Regions from separate parts of the Homo sapiens genome. Here regions 1, 3, 4 and 5 are each linked to region 2. Evidence: promoter capture Hi-C in 16 types of primary human blood cells and fetal thymus (Javierre and others, 2016). All regions are on one chromosome and are shown on one strand. The core of a region is centred on a gene start or on the middle of the fragment in contact, and the rest is flanking DNA. Distances in the headings are between cores, read along the strand shown.

The links. Contacts are between HindIII fragments. The CHiCAGO score rates a contact against its expected background, and 5 or more counts as called.
Region 1: a fragment that was not itself captured here is called in contact with the fragment with the promoter of NUDT16L1 in region 2 in 1 of 17 cell types (naive CD4 T cells); the score reaches 5.2 in naive CD4 T cells.
Region 3: a contact is called between a fragment that was not itself captured here and the fragment with the promoter of NUDT16L1 in region 2, in 2 of 17 cell types (naive CD8 T cells and total CD8 T cells). The highest score is 6.0, in naive CD8 T cells.
Region 4: a contact is called between a fragment that was not itself captured here and the fragment with the promoter of NUDT16L1 in region 2, in 7 of 17 cell types (neutrophils, endothelial precursors, M2 macrophages and 4 more). The highest score is 11.6, in neutrophils.
Region 5: a fragment that was not itself captured here is called in contact with the fragment with the promoter of NUDT16L1 in region 2 in 1 of 17 cell types (neutrophils); the score reaches 5.6 in neutrophils.

Annotation. Positions count from the first base shown.
Region 1 is chr16:4,343,719-4,346,418 of GRCh38, forward strand. All of the region lies in intron 27 of CORO7-PAM16 (CORO7-PAM16 readthrough), which reads right to left. All of the region lies in intron 1 of PAM16 (presequence translocase associated motor 16), which reads right to left. Among named protein-coding and RNA genes, the nearest start is that of PAM16, 6.3 kb to the right of the region's middle. RefSeq lists a silencer at 1,216-1,416. The HindIII fragment of the contact is 3,035 bases long and covers 1-2,700 here.
Region 2 is chr16:4,692,300-4,694,999 of GRCh38, forward strand. NUDT16L1 (nudix hydrolase 16 like 1) reads left to right here and starts at 1,263. Exons shown (of 3, transcript NM_032349.4): 1 at 1,263-1,580; 2 at 1,679-1,939; 3 at 2,659-2,700. The coding sequence starts at 1,428. RefSeq lists enhancers at 834-923, 1,175-1,682, 1,683-2,190 and silencers at 1,114-1,473, 1,584-2,083. The HindIII fragment of the contact is 13,448 bases long and covers 1-2,700 here.
Region 3 is chr16:4,258,170-4,260,869 of GRCh38, forward strand. TFAP4 (transcription factor AP-4) reads right to left here. Exons shown (of 7, transcript NM_003223.3): 5 at 2,286-2,426; 6 at 1,921-2,076; 7 at 1-80. Among named protein-coding and RNA genes, the nearest start is that of LINC01569, 5.7 kb to the left of the region's middle. The HindIII fragment of the contact is 217 bases long and covers 1,285-1,501 here.
Region 4 is chr16:4,952,940-4,955,639 of GRCh38, forward strand. No RefSeq gene overlaps it. Among named protein-coding and RNA genes, the nearest start is that of SEC14L5, 4.0 kb to the right of the region's middle. The HindIII fragment of the contact is 2,451 bases long and covers 176-2,626 here.
Region 5 is chr16:4,294,755-4,297,454 of GRCh38, forward strand. No RefSeq gene overlaps it. Among named protein-coding and RNA genes, the nearest start is that of GLIS2, 20 kb to the right of the region's middle. RefSeq lists enhancers at 1-341, 1,981-2,700. The HindIII fragment of the contact is 3,103 bases long and covers 1-2,700 here.

The DNA.
Region 1 (2,700 bases), core at 1-2,500, 350 kb before region 2:
AACCTTTACTTTACCAACGGGGAAACAGATCTGTCCTAATTCTCCCAAGTCCGAAGACTTTAAGTCCATTCCATTCAATAAAACAAACTTACTATGCAAACCTGTTTCCATCTTCAAGGAGCTAAAAGCCCACTAGGAGGGTATTTAAACACACTATGGACCAAATCATGAGGGAGAGTCAGGCTCGTTCATTTGTGCAGCCATTGGTTCACCCATTCATTCAAACATCTGCTGAGAGTCTACTCTGCTCAGCACTTGAGCACAAAGCTACACAGAACCTGGTCCCTGCCCCGAGTCAGAGCACACTGCTGGCCTGGCAGGGAACCCCACTGTCACACACCAGGCTGAACATGCCGGAACACTGCACGTGTGATTCCATGCCCCGCAGAGGCCCTGGGGACTCACTAAGATGTGAGCGGAAGCAACAGAGTCGAGGGAAAACTCAAGACTGAGATGGGATTCGGTGAGAGGAGGGGGTTCTGTGTGAGAGGAGGGCGTTCCGTGAGAGGAGGGGGTTCCGTGAGAGGAGGGGGTTCCGTGAGAGGAGGGGGTTCTGTGAGAGGAGGGGGTTCTGTGTGAGAGGAGGGGGTTCTGTGAGAGGAGGGGGTTCCGTGAGAGGAGGGGGTTCTGTGTGAGAAGAGGGGGTTCTGTGTGAGAGGAGGGGGTTCTGTGTGAGAGGAGGGGGTTCTGTGAGAGGAGGGGACTGTGTGACAGGAGGGGGTTCTCTGAGAGGAGGGGACTGTGTGAGAGGAGGGGGTTCTGTGAGAGGAGGGGGTTCTGTGAGAGGAGGGGGTTCTGTGAGAGAAGGGGACTGTGTGAGAGGAGGGGGTTCCGTGAGAGGAGGGGGTTCTGTGAGAGGAGGGGGTTCCGTGAGAGGAGGGGATTGTGTGAGGGGGGGTTCTGTGAGAGGAGGGGGTTCCGTGAGAGGAGGGGGTTCCGTGAGAGGAGGGGGTTCTGTGAGAGGAGGGGGTTCCGTGAGAGAAGGGGGTTCCGTGAGAGGAGGGGGTTCCGTGAGAGGAGGGGGTTCTGTGAGAGGAGGGGGTTCCGTGAGAGGAGGGGGTTCTGTGAGAGGAGGGGATTGTGTGAGAGGAGGGGATTGTGTGAGAGGAGGGGGTTCTGTGAGAGGAGGGGGTTCCGTGAGAGGAGGGGGTTCCTCCTGGGCTGGGCTTTGCAGGGTAGGAAGAATCATGATGGAAATACTAGGGCTTTCTAGGCAGAGGGACTGGGTTGAGCCAAAACTGGCAGGAGAGAAGGCAGAAGGGAGTTCCTGCGAGCAGCCAATAGCCTAGGCTGGCCTGGGAAAGACTGGGAATCTGGCGGATGACATGGAAAGATGCACAGATCTTTGTGAAACAAAGCGATTATATATAGACAGCACATACAAAGGATCTTGTGACTGCAAAGCCGTAGACGCAGGGGGGTGGCGCGGGCTGGAGGCAGCTCGGCATAGGTTGAAAGCTCATGTGGCACAGCCGAGTGACTTTCCCTTTCTTCCTAGTGCTTTTCTGTAGATTTGCCTTCAGTCAACAAGTATCAACTGAGTCCACACACCAGGCACGGTGCCAAACACGTTCAATTCATTGTGCCGTTTAATTCTGACAACTCAGGGGTGGGGGACTGCTGACTGGCCCGAGGACGTAACAGCAGGTGCCTCGGAGGCAGATCGGAAACCCAAGGCTGGTGCTATCTGTCACAGCAGTCACTACGCAGGGTCCCGGGGTCTGAAGGTAGGGCACCTGGGCAAGCCGACAAGTATCAAGAACCCAACCCCGAGGCCAGAGGGGCTTGCTCCAGATTCCAGTGGATTCGACTCCAGAGCTGGCCTTGTTCAGCCTCCGAGGACCTGCTCTTTCCTTAACAGGTGGGATGTCATTATGGGCCATTAGGGGAATGAACAAACAAGTGGGTTAAGATTTCAAAAGTAGGTGGAAACTTCATAACTTCTGGATTTCACAGCAGAAAGAGCCCAGAGAAGACCCTCCTGTGATCACAGCGAGGGGCAGGGCTGTGGCTGTACTGCAGATGAGGGAGGGTCAGGGATGCACCTGATGACACCTGCGGTCTCACCTGACTTCGCCTCCTTCCTAAAGCCCCTCCCGAGTGGAACAGGAGGCTCAGGGATGGGATGCTGGTGCTGTCTGAAGGACAGAGGTGAAAGTCAGAGGGTCCCCTCGGCTTGAAACACGGCTCAGGTCTCAGACTACCCCTCACACCAACAGCCTTCGGTCCCTCTGCTGCCATCGTACAGCCTTGCAATCACTTGTTTACTTTTCTGCCAAGGCCAATGACTGTTGCAAAATAATGAACGGTAAGAGCTGAGGTCATAACTGGGGAGCTTCCCCGACCATCCCCTGCACACTTCAAACCAAAGCGGCGTGGTGGCCTGTGGCTTCAGCTGCCTAGAGCTGCAGGGCAGAGGGGGGCTGGCCTGCAAAGTTTCAGCAGACTGGACGGCCCATTGAGGCCAGCAAGGTTCCTATAGGAGGCATCTCTGAGAAGACGCAGTGTAGTGTAATGGTTACACCTGCAGGCTTTGGGATCACCTGTGTGCAAAAATCCCAGCTATCTGACATAGACACGTTCTCAACTCCTTTGAGCAACCCAGTTTGCTTACCTGTAAAATGTGGCCACCAATAAAGCTGAGATAATGCCTGTCAAATGCCTGGCACACAGCCTAATGGTACAGCAGGTGCTCAATAA
Region 2 (2,700 bases), core at 13-2,512:
CCCCTCGCTGCCCTCTCGCCTTCTCACATGGTCGCTCACTCTGGAATCTGGACTTCCCCTGCTGCTTGCAGCTGTCCCATGTGACCCCTGACCCACTGGTGGCCACAGGAGGAGAGAGAGGTGCCCTCTCTGGGTCCTTATTCTCCACATCTGAGGCCACCACGGACCTAACAGGTGAGTTTCCAATGCCCACCCTCTCCCTCTCTCTTCTCCTGCCTGCCTCCACTGAAGGCAGCCTTCTCTGTGCCAGCGAGCTCGGCCTCACTGCACGGCTCTCCCGAGGCTGTGCCCCAGCCCTGGGCACCCATGCTGTGAGTGCAGGCAGGGGGGTTCATGTGCTCAGCAAATCCATTCCCCTGGTGGGGAGGAAAGTGGCCCTGGGCCCTGCTGCTGGTGAGGTGAGCCTTGCCATCATGGAGTTCAGGGCACCTCGCTCTGCCTTGGGCTGTTTCGGATGCTTCTGAGCCCCAGAGACATCTCCAGTACAAACACAAGGTAAGTGGTAAGTACCTCAGGCCCTTGTGGAATCGGGATTCTGCCTCTGTCATCAACTGCCAGTTGTACTTAGGCAAGTTATGTCCCTCTCTGAGCTCCAAGTTCCTCATCGTAAATTGGGGAAACCCCTCTTCCCCCCACAGTACCTGGCACAGGGTGCCCGGCTTGGAGGATGCTGGAAAGGTCCAGCCCCGGAATTTAAGTCACTTTCTGCCCAGCAAGCTGGGTCCACAGAGCCCCAGAGCTCCCGGTCGTCCGCCCTGACCCAGCGTGGACTCGGGGACTGGGGCACTCAAGCCCTGCCAAGCCCTGCTCCCCGTGCTGTCCTGGATCGAGCCTGCCAGCAGGGTGGCTAGGTCGGGACAGCTGTCGTGCATGGCAGGCGAAGGCCATCTCCCTCCGGGCTTGGGTCCGGTGGCGCTGGCGGAGCAAGGCTCCGGGGCATCTCTGGCTCGTGTGGTCGTGCCAAGGGTGCCATTGCGGATGGACGGGGCCATGCGGGCCGGGTCGGCCTCCTGGGGAGAAACGGGTGGGCGCAAGGGGATCGGCGCCATCGAGGGTGGAGAAACCGCAGGGAATTTCGGCTGTCCGCTTTGGGGCGCCAAGGAAGATGTTCGTCGCCCACAATGTCAACCTTGAGCCACCACGGCACCGACCAGTCGTCTAGGCTCTCCCGTCGGAGGCGGGGCCGCCGCCCAGGGTGTGCGACTATTGGGTGACGGCTGACGCGCACCGCCCTCCTTTGCACACCGCCCGCAGCACCTCTCGACGACGCACCGCGGCGCTGCGAGGGGCTCGGTCCCGGGGCGCGCCGGCGATTGGCGGGGGAACCGGACCCGGGGGCGCGGCCGCCCGCGGATTGGCGAGGCACGGCGGGGGCGGGCTCGCGCATGCTCTTAAGTGGCAGCGGCGGGGACGGGGTCAGTGCCAAGATGTCGACGGCGGCGGTTCCGGAGCTGAAGCAGATCAGCCGGGTGGAGGCGATGCGCCTAGGGCCGGGCTGGAGCCACTCGTGCCACGCCATGCTGTACGCCGCCAACCCTGGGCAGCTCTTCGGCCGCATCCCCATGCGCTTCTCGGTGCTGGTGAGGACGGGCGAGGGCGCGGGCGAGGGTGCCGGCGCGGGCGGGCCCGGGCGGGGGCGTCCGTCGACCCCGCGGCTGTGACCCGCGCTCCCTTGCAGATGCAGATGCGTTTCGACGGGCTGCTGGGCTTCCCCGGGGGCTTCGTGGACCGGCGCTTCTGGTCGCTGGAGGACGGCCTGAACCGGGTGCTGGGCCTGGGCCTGGGCTGCCTGCGCCTCACCGAGGCCGACTACCTGAGCTCGCACCTGACCGAGGGCCCACACCGCGTCGTGGCGCACCTGTACGCGCGGCAGCTGACGCTGGAGCAGCTGCACGCCGTGGAGATCAGCGCGGTGCACTCGCGCGACCACGGCCTGGAGGTGGGGCCGCCGCCCGGGCCCCGCCCCCCGCCCCGGGGTTTGGCTCTGGCCCCGTGGAAGGCACCGATGGGTAACACGTCTCCTGAGGGTCCCCTGGCCGGGCTGGGTCGGGTGTCGCTGTCTCCAGCAATGGGGTGGGGAGAGGGGTCTGGGGCTGGGAGGCCGGGAAAGGAGGGGCGGGGGTGGGGGCCGGCGCTGGGGCTCCCTCAGGGCTGTGTTACATCCGCCTTGCTGCCTGCCATTGCCAATCCTGGGAGTGGGGGAGTGGGATCGGTGGGGAGGAAGGGATGGGGGAGGAGCGGGGATTGCTTGGGGAGTTGGGAAACTTGAGCACAGCGGGGGTTGTAAAACTTGGGAACCTCATGTTGGGCGTGAAGGCTCTTGGGATTTGTACTTTGTGGTCTGGAAGGGCTGGACTGCGGGTGTTCAGGCTTCGTTGGGTGGACGGGGGGAGCATGGGGTGCGGACCCCGGGGTGGGGTGGCCTGGGTACGAGGGGGGGGAGTGCATGGGGTCAGCCTCCACACTTGCTTGGGGAGGAGGGGGCTGCACTGCTCCGAGGGAGCTGGCTGGCTTCTGCCAGGCCCTGCGTGGGTCTCCCATTAAGTCCTTGGCAAAGCTGGCTGCTCATACCCTGGCCTCATAGCTTCCAGGCCCCTCCTGCTGGAGGTGCCATTGTGTGGCAGGCCTGGCCCCAACCCCTACCTCCTGTCTGCGCAGGTGCTGGGCCTCGTGCGGGTCCCGCTGTACACCCAGAAGGAC
Region 3 (2,700 bases), core at 143-2,642, 430 kb before region 2:
ACAGGCTTCACGATGACAGCTCGCCGCTGCTCCTCCTCCAGCTCCTGCTTTTCCTGGGTGCCCTCGATGTGCTGGATTGCCTGGACAGGGACGAACCACTGAGAAGGCTCGGCCGGGGATACATGGCCAGCCAGGAGACAGTGGGGGCTCTCAGCCAGCCACTGTCACCCCCAAAACACATAGCCCAGAAAAAAGCCTGGCAAAGCAGCAGGGGAGGCCCGCTAGAGTACAGGAAAAACAAACTCCTTTTACTTTTTTTTTGGAGACAAGCTCTCGCTATATCACCCAGGCTAGAGTGCAGTGGCATGATCATAGCTTACTGCAGTCAGACTCCTGGGCTCCAGCGATCCTCCTACTGCTCCCTCCCTAGTAGCTGGAACCACAGGGGTGCGCCACCATCCCCAGCTAACTTCTGTATTTTTGGTAGAGACGAGGGGGTTCTTGCTATGTTGCCCAAGCTGATCTCGAACTCCTGACCTCAGGCAATCTTCCTGCCTCAACCTCCAAAAGTCCCGGGATTACAGGCATAAGCCACCACGCCTGACCCAGGAACAAACTTTCAAAACCCCTCTGTTAAGTTGAAAAATCCATTCTGGGAAGATGACAGTCCCAGTGCTGCTTAGAAATTATATTATATGTATCAGCCAGGCGCAGTGGCTCACGCCTGTAATCCCAACACTTTGGGAGGCCAAGACGGGAGGATCACCTGACGTCAGGAGTTCGAGACCAGCCCCTCAACAGAGGCCAGAAGCCTACTAAAAATACAAAATTTGCCAGGCGTGGTGGCACATGCCTATAATCCCAGCTACTTGGGAGGCTGAGGCAGGAGAATCACTTGAACCTGGGAGGAGGAGGTTGCGATGAGCTGAGATAGCACCATTGCACTCCAGCCTGGGCAATAAGAGCGAAACTCTATCTCAAAAAAAAAGAAAAAAAAAGAAATAATATGGACCTTTCATATGTTTTTGTTTGTTTGTTTTTTGAGAAAGAGTCTCACCGTGTCACCCAGGCTGGAGTTCAGTGGTGCAATCTCAGCTCACTGCAACTTCCACCTCCCATGTTCAAGCGATTCTCCTGCCTCAGCCTCCCGAATAGCTGGGATTACAGGCGTGCACCACCACGTCAGGCTAATTTTTGTATTTTTAATAGAGATGGGGTTTTCACCATGTTGGCCAGGCTGGTCTCGAACTCCTGACCTCAAGTGATCCACCCACTTTGGCCTCCCAAAGTGCTGGGATTGCAGGTGTGAGCCACCACACCCGGCCATATGTTTATGTATTTTAAAGCTTGCCTATTAACTTATTAAAGGCGTTTGTTATTAATTGTATTACACAATTTGCAAAGTTTATGAGCAATTAAAATTCGAGGAGATTGATGGATTTTTTTTCCTGTTTTGGCTTTTTTGGTTATTTATTTATTATTTACTGATTTCTGATCTTGGGCTCCTCAAGGGGCCCTGTTCAAGGGTGAATGCAACTGTAACTTCAGGCTTGACCCACAAAGCTTCCTCCTCTGTAGGAGGCCCAACTATCACCAGCCCTGCCACCTGTATCTCCATCCAGGTCCTAGGAGATGGAGCTGAGACAATGTTCCGGACCAACCCAAGAGCTGGATGCAGGAACTCTGTAACCAGGGGGCTCTGGGAGCAAAGGACCCTCTCCGGAAACCCCATATTGAGGGAAGGGACAGTCTTCCTGGCCAACTCCTCCTACTGGCGTGGTAGGCCCTGCCCCGATCTCTGGCCCTCACATTCTCCACTTGCAGATCCAGGGACGGGGCCCCCCAAGGCTTCCAGCCCTCCACCCCTTCCCACACAAGCACCATCTTCCTCCGCTTCTGCCCCTCTTTTCCAGTCTCCCCTAAAGAGCCTGTTCCCGGAGTATGACCCCCACAAGCTGCCCCTTTCTCAAGCTCAGGTACCTGCACGATGGTGTCCAGATTTTGCCGGGATGTGGAAACAGAGTTGATGACCGAGGAGGGGCCCATGGTGACGACATTGATGTGGTGGGAGGGAGGAGGAGGCGGTGCTGGCACGATCACCGTGGGGTGGTGGGTGGGGGCCGGAGGGGGCAGAAGCTGCAAGACAGAGGCCCTCAGCCTTTCTCTCAAGGCTTCTCTTGGCCCATCCACCTCCCTTTCATGCAGAGCTGGCCAATGTATAACTGCCTCTGCCCCTTTATATTAAGAAGCAGAGAGGACGTGGCCTAGGGAGAGGCTTCCGCCATTCAAGATCACCTGTCCCCTTCCCGGTCCCCAGAGCCCACTCCCGGGCGCCTCCTGCTCACCTGGGTCCGCAGCTGCTGCTGTTCCCGCTCCAGCTTCTCCTGGTGCAGCAGCCTCACCTGTTCCTGCTGCTGCTGCAGCTGCACCTGCTGCGCAATCACCTTGAGCTTTTCCGGGTACATGTGGGCCTCCAGCGAGCGCACCTGGAGGCAGGACAACCTGGGCTCAGGGCCAAGGCCGGGAGCACACCCTGCCCTGTCAGTCTCACAGCAGCTCATTCACTCCTGCTGAAAACCCTAGCACAGGGCGGGCCCCTCTCAACAGAGGCCAGAAGCCTTTCCAGAGCCCTTCAGCCCCCGGCTCCTCTCGCCTCCCACCTCGGCCTCCACTGGACCATGCTCCCTCCTGCCCGAGTCTTTGCCTATGCTATTCCCTCTGCCGGGAACACCTTTCTCTGTCCTTTGGTTAACTATGAGA
Region 4 (2,700 bases), core at 151-2,650, 260 kb after region 2:
GGAGGCCGAGGCGGGTGGATGACAAGGTCGGGAGATCGAGACCATGGTGGCTAACACGGTGAAACCCCGTCTCTACTAAAAATACAAAAAAATTAGCCGGGCGTGGTGGTGGGCGCCTGTAGTCCCAGCTACTCGGGAGGCTGAGGGAGGAGAATGGCATGAACCTGGGAGGCGAAGCTTGCAATGAGCCGAGATCACGCCATTGCACTCCAGCCTGGGCGATAGAGTGAGACTCTGTCTCAAAAAAAAAAAAAAAAAAAAAAGAGGGGACATTGAGGCAACAAAGCTAGGGGGTGGCAGGGTCAGAACGCACATCAAGGTTGGTCTGACTCCTGTACCCGCCCCAAGTGCCCGGCCACCTGACCCCTCCCACAGGGCCACCCCTCCCATCCCCTGGGCCACCCTCCTCCCGCTGTGTTCCATTCTCTCCTTTGGGCTTCATGTAGCAGTTGGTGGAGCCCAGAAGTCTTTGTGAAGTGAATGGACTTGGGTGCCCGGCTGGGGGTCAAGGTGGGTGGGTCCTGGCTGTGTAGCCCCCTGGGTCAGACTGCCTCAGACTCAGCCTCTGCTCAGTCAAAGCTGCTCCCATGACCAGGACTGTTCCACAGAGTTGTGCAGGTTACAACCTATACACCTGTACGTAACAGCCCTGCCAACCATCATGATAGCCCTGGAGATTCCCAAATCCAGGAGGCCTCAGGGCTCTGCTTCGAGAAGGGGCAAGAAGCAACACAACGTAGAGGCCACCCGGGACGAATGAGATGTCCCCCAGGAAGCAGATAAACAGATGGATGGTTTCCAGGGGCTGCGGGAAGGGAGGAAGGAGGAGTGACAGCTTCATGGGTATGAGTTTCCTTTTGGGGTGATGAAAATGTTCCAAAACTAGAAAGTGGTGCTGGCTGTACGTGCATCTTGTGAATATACCAAAAGCCAGAGAATTGTACACTAAGAAATGGTTAAAATGGTAACTTTTGTGTTATGTGCATTTTTTTTTTTTGAGATAGAGTCTCGCTCTGTCACCCAGGCTGGAGTGCAATGACATGATCTTGGCTCACTGCAACCTCCACCTGCTGGGTTCAAGCAATTCTCCTGCCTCAGCCTCCTGAGTAGCTGGGATTACAGGCATGCAGCACACTAAGAAATGGTTAAAATGGTAACTTTTGTGTTATGTGCTTTTTTTTTTTTTGAGATGGAGTTTCTCTCTTGTTGCCCAGGCTGGAGTGCAATGGCATGATCTTGACTCACCGCAACCTCTGCCTCCCGGGTTCAAGCGATCCTCCTGCCTCAGCCTCCCCAGTAGCTGGGATTTCAGGCATGCATCACCACACCCAGCTAATTTTGTATTTTTAGTAGAGACGAGGTTTGTTCATGTTGATCAGGCTGGCCTCGAACTCCCAACCTCAGGTGATCTGCCCACCTCGGTCTCCCAAAGTGCTGGGATTACAGGCATGAGCCATCGTGCCCAGCTGATTTTTTTCTTTTTTTTTTTTTTTTTTGAGATGGAGTCTCACTCTGTTGCCCAGGCTGGAGTGCAGTTGTGTGATCTCAGCTCACTGCACCCTCCACCTCCCAGGTTCAAGTGATTCTCCTACCTCAGCCTCCTGAGTAGCTGGGATTACAGGCATGCGCTACCATGCCTGGCTAATTTTTTCATTTTTAGTAGAGACAGGTTTTTGCCATGTTGTCCAGGCTGGTCTCGAACTCCTGACCTCAGGTGATCCGCCCACCTCGGCCTCCCAAACTGTTGGGATTACCGGCATGAGCCACTGTGCTCGGACCATTTTGCCACAATAAAATTAAGCTGGGGACCGTACCCTGCTTACTGCATCTTCTTCAGCTTCAGAGCCATCCCAGGGCCCATTATGTATTCCAGGGTCTTAACCCCCATTCTCAATGTCACACTGAGCCATTCAACTCAGGACATTCCCAGCAGGATGCCTTCCAGGAACATCTGCCTTTGGATGGGGTCCAGAGTTTTACTCAAACAAATGCATCACTAATGGTTGAATCTTCTCTGGCAGTGGCCCATCTGCTGGGAAGACATTCAGAGACATGAGGTGGTTTCTGGGGTTCCCAAAACCCACCTCCACAAAAGGCAGCATTGGCTGGGTCATTCTTGCAGGGCAGGTGGGAAGCAGCAGATAGAGGCTAAAGATCCTGCCCTGGGACTGAGTTCATGCCCAGCACCCCTGGGGAATCAGCCTATCCTTGCAGCGCCTTCTTGTCCTGGAGCCAGGGTGCCTGGAGATCTTGCAGTTCAGGGCTTGGAAATCACATCTTCCCGGAGCATCAGCTGCAGCTCTAGGAGAAGAAGTCATTGGAGAACGAGAGTCCTGGGTATGAGTTCCTTACTAGCTGTGTGGCCTTGGGCAAGTTATTCAGTCTCTCTGTGCCTTGTGCCTTAGTTTCCCTACGTGTAAGATGAGGATTAAAATAGTTTTGACTGTATATGGGCTTTTAATTGAGATGAAAGCCACGTAACAGAAAATTAATCATTTTAATATTGTGGCCCCAATTCAGTGGCATGTGCATTTGCAACGTTGTGCAACCACCACCTCTATCACATTCCAAGACATTTTCATTGCTCTGGGGTTGCTTTGAGGATTAAATGCATTCGTGTTTGTAAAGCTTTAGAATGGTGCTAGGTATAGTAAGCGCCAATGGAGTGTCAACAAGTGGTAGGAATAATTAGTAGAACAG
Region 5 (2,700 bases), core at 33-2,532, 400 kb before region 2:
ATCACCTGAGGTCAGGAGTCGGACACCAGCCCGGCCAATACGGTGAAACCCTGTCTCTACTAAAAATACAAAAATTAGCTGGGCGTGGTGATGCACGCCTGTAGTCCCAGCTACGCGGGAGGCTGAGGCAGAAGAATCGTTTGAACCTGGGAGGTGGAGGTTGCAGTGAGCTGAGATCATGCCACTGCACTCCAAAATGGGTGACAGAGCAGGACTCTGTCTCAAAAAAAAAAAAAAAAAAAAAAGCTGGGCACGGTGGCTCATGCCTGTAATCACAGCACTTTGGGAGGCCAAGGCAGGCGGGTTGCTTGAGGCCAGGAGTTGGAGAGCAGCCTGGGCAATATGGTGAAACCCCATCTCTACTCAAAATACAAAAATCAGCTGGGGGTGGTGGTGGGCGCCCGTAATCCTAGCTAGTTGGGAGACTGAGGCAGGAGAATCACTTGAACCCAGGAGGCAGAGGTTGCAGTGAGATGAGATTGTGCCATTGCACTTCAGCCTGGGGGACAGAGGGAGACTCTGTCTCAAAAATAGATAGATTAGATAGATAGATAGACAGACAGACAGACAGACAGATAAAGGCCGGGTGTGGTGGCTCATGCCGCCCTGTAATCCCAGCATTTTGGGAGGCTGAGGCGGGCCGATCACTTGAAGTCAGGAGTTTAAGACCAGCCTGGCCAACATGACGAAACTCCATCTCTACTAAAAACGAGCAAAAATAGCCGGGCGTGGTGGTCCACGCCTGTAATCCCAGCTACTCCAGAGGCTGAGGCACAAGTATCGCTTGAACTTGGGAGGCAGAGCTTGCAATGAGCAGAGATTTCACCATTGCACTCCAGCCTGAGCGACAGAGCGAGACTGTGTCTCAAAAATAAAAAGGAACAAGGTGCTGATCTATGCTACAATATAGACGAACCTTGAAACATTAAGTGAAAAGCCAATCACAAGAGACCACCACTTTATTTGAAATGCCCAGAATAGGGAAATCCATAGAGGCAGAAAACAGGCTGGTGCGTTGCCAGGGCCTGGGAGGAAAGAGGAATGGGGAGTGGCTGCTTCTTGAGTATAGGGTTTCTTTTTGGGATGGTGAAAATGTTCTGAAATTAGATGTTGATGATGGTTGCACGACTCTGAATACACTAAAAACCACTGATTGTACACTTCAAAGAGGTGAATTTTACGGTATGTGAATTATATCTTATTTTTATTTTTTAATCTTTTTTTGAGATGGAGTCTCACTCTGTCACCCAGGCTGGAGTACAGTGGTGCGATCTCAGCTCACTGCAACCTCCACCTCCCTGGTTCAAGCGATTCTCCTGGCTCAGCCTCCCGAGTAGCTGAAACTACAGGCACCCACCACCACACCCGGCTAATTTTTTTAGTAGAGATGGGGTCTGGGGTTTCACCGTGTTAGCCAGGATGGTCTCGATCTCCTCAACTCATGATCCGCCCGCCTTGGCCTCCCAAAGTGCTAGGATTACAGGCGTGAGCCACTGTGCCCGGCCAAATTTTTGTATTTTTAGTAGAGACGGGGTTCACCATGTTGGCCAGGTTGGTCTCGAACTCCTGACCTCAGGTGATCTGCCGGTCTCAGCCTCCCAAAGTGCCGGGATTACAAGCATGAGCCACTGCTCCCAGCTTGATTTTATTTTTTATTTTTATTATTATTAACTAATTTATTTATTTTAGACAGAGTCTCTCTCTGTCACCCAGGCTGGAGTGCAGTGGCGCGAACTTGGCTCACTGCAAGCTCTGCCTCCTGGGTTCACGCCATTCTCCTGCCTCAGCCTCTGGAGTAGCTGGGACTACAGGCGCCCGCCACCACACCTGGCTAATTTTTTGTATTTTTAGTAGAGATGGGGTTTCACTGTGTTAGCCAGGATGCTCTCGATCTCCTAACCTTGTGATTTGCCTGCCTCGGCCTCCCAAAGTGCTGGGATTACAGGCGTGAGCGACTGCGCCCGGCCTATTTTTATTTTTTGAGACAGAGTCTCACTCTTGTCACCCAGGCTGGAGTGCAATGGCGCAATTTCGGCTCACTGCAACCTCTGCCTCCCAGGTTTAAGCAGTTCTCCTGTCTCAGCCTCCCGAGTGGTTGGGATTACAGGCACGCACCACCATGCCAAGCTAATTTTTATATTTTTAGTAGAGATGGGGTTTCGTCATGTTGGCCAGGCTGGTCTCAAACTCCTGACCTCAGGTAATCCACCCACCTTGGCCTCCCAAAGTGCTGGGATTACAGGTGTGAGTCACCCTTCTGACCCACTCCCAGGTTCCAGGAACAAGAATACAGGTCCTCTAATGGACAAAGCTCATTCAGGGACCCTCCAATGTGAATCGACCAGACACAGTCCTCATGTGTCATGGGAGGGGGACAGGCAGCAGCTCCTGGAGCGGAAGGACGCCTGGCCCCTCCTCCGGCCCCAGATGCAGCTGCAGGTACAGGGAGGGCCTCCCAGGGCAGGCCAGAGCCTGCAGGCCCCCAGCTGCAGCCCCAGCTGGGACCAGGCTTCTAACCTCACCCCTTTCTTGCTCCTCCCGCCTCCACCATCTCTCCTGTGGAGCCCCCAAGACTCTGGAGGAGAAATCAAATACAAAACTCCTAGGAGAACAGAAAGGGGGCTGCTGCTGCTGCGTGCAGACACACTCATGCACACCCACGCACACACATGCAAACACACACATGCACACCATCCTTCG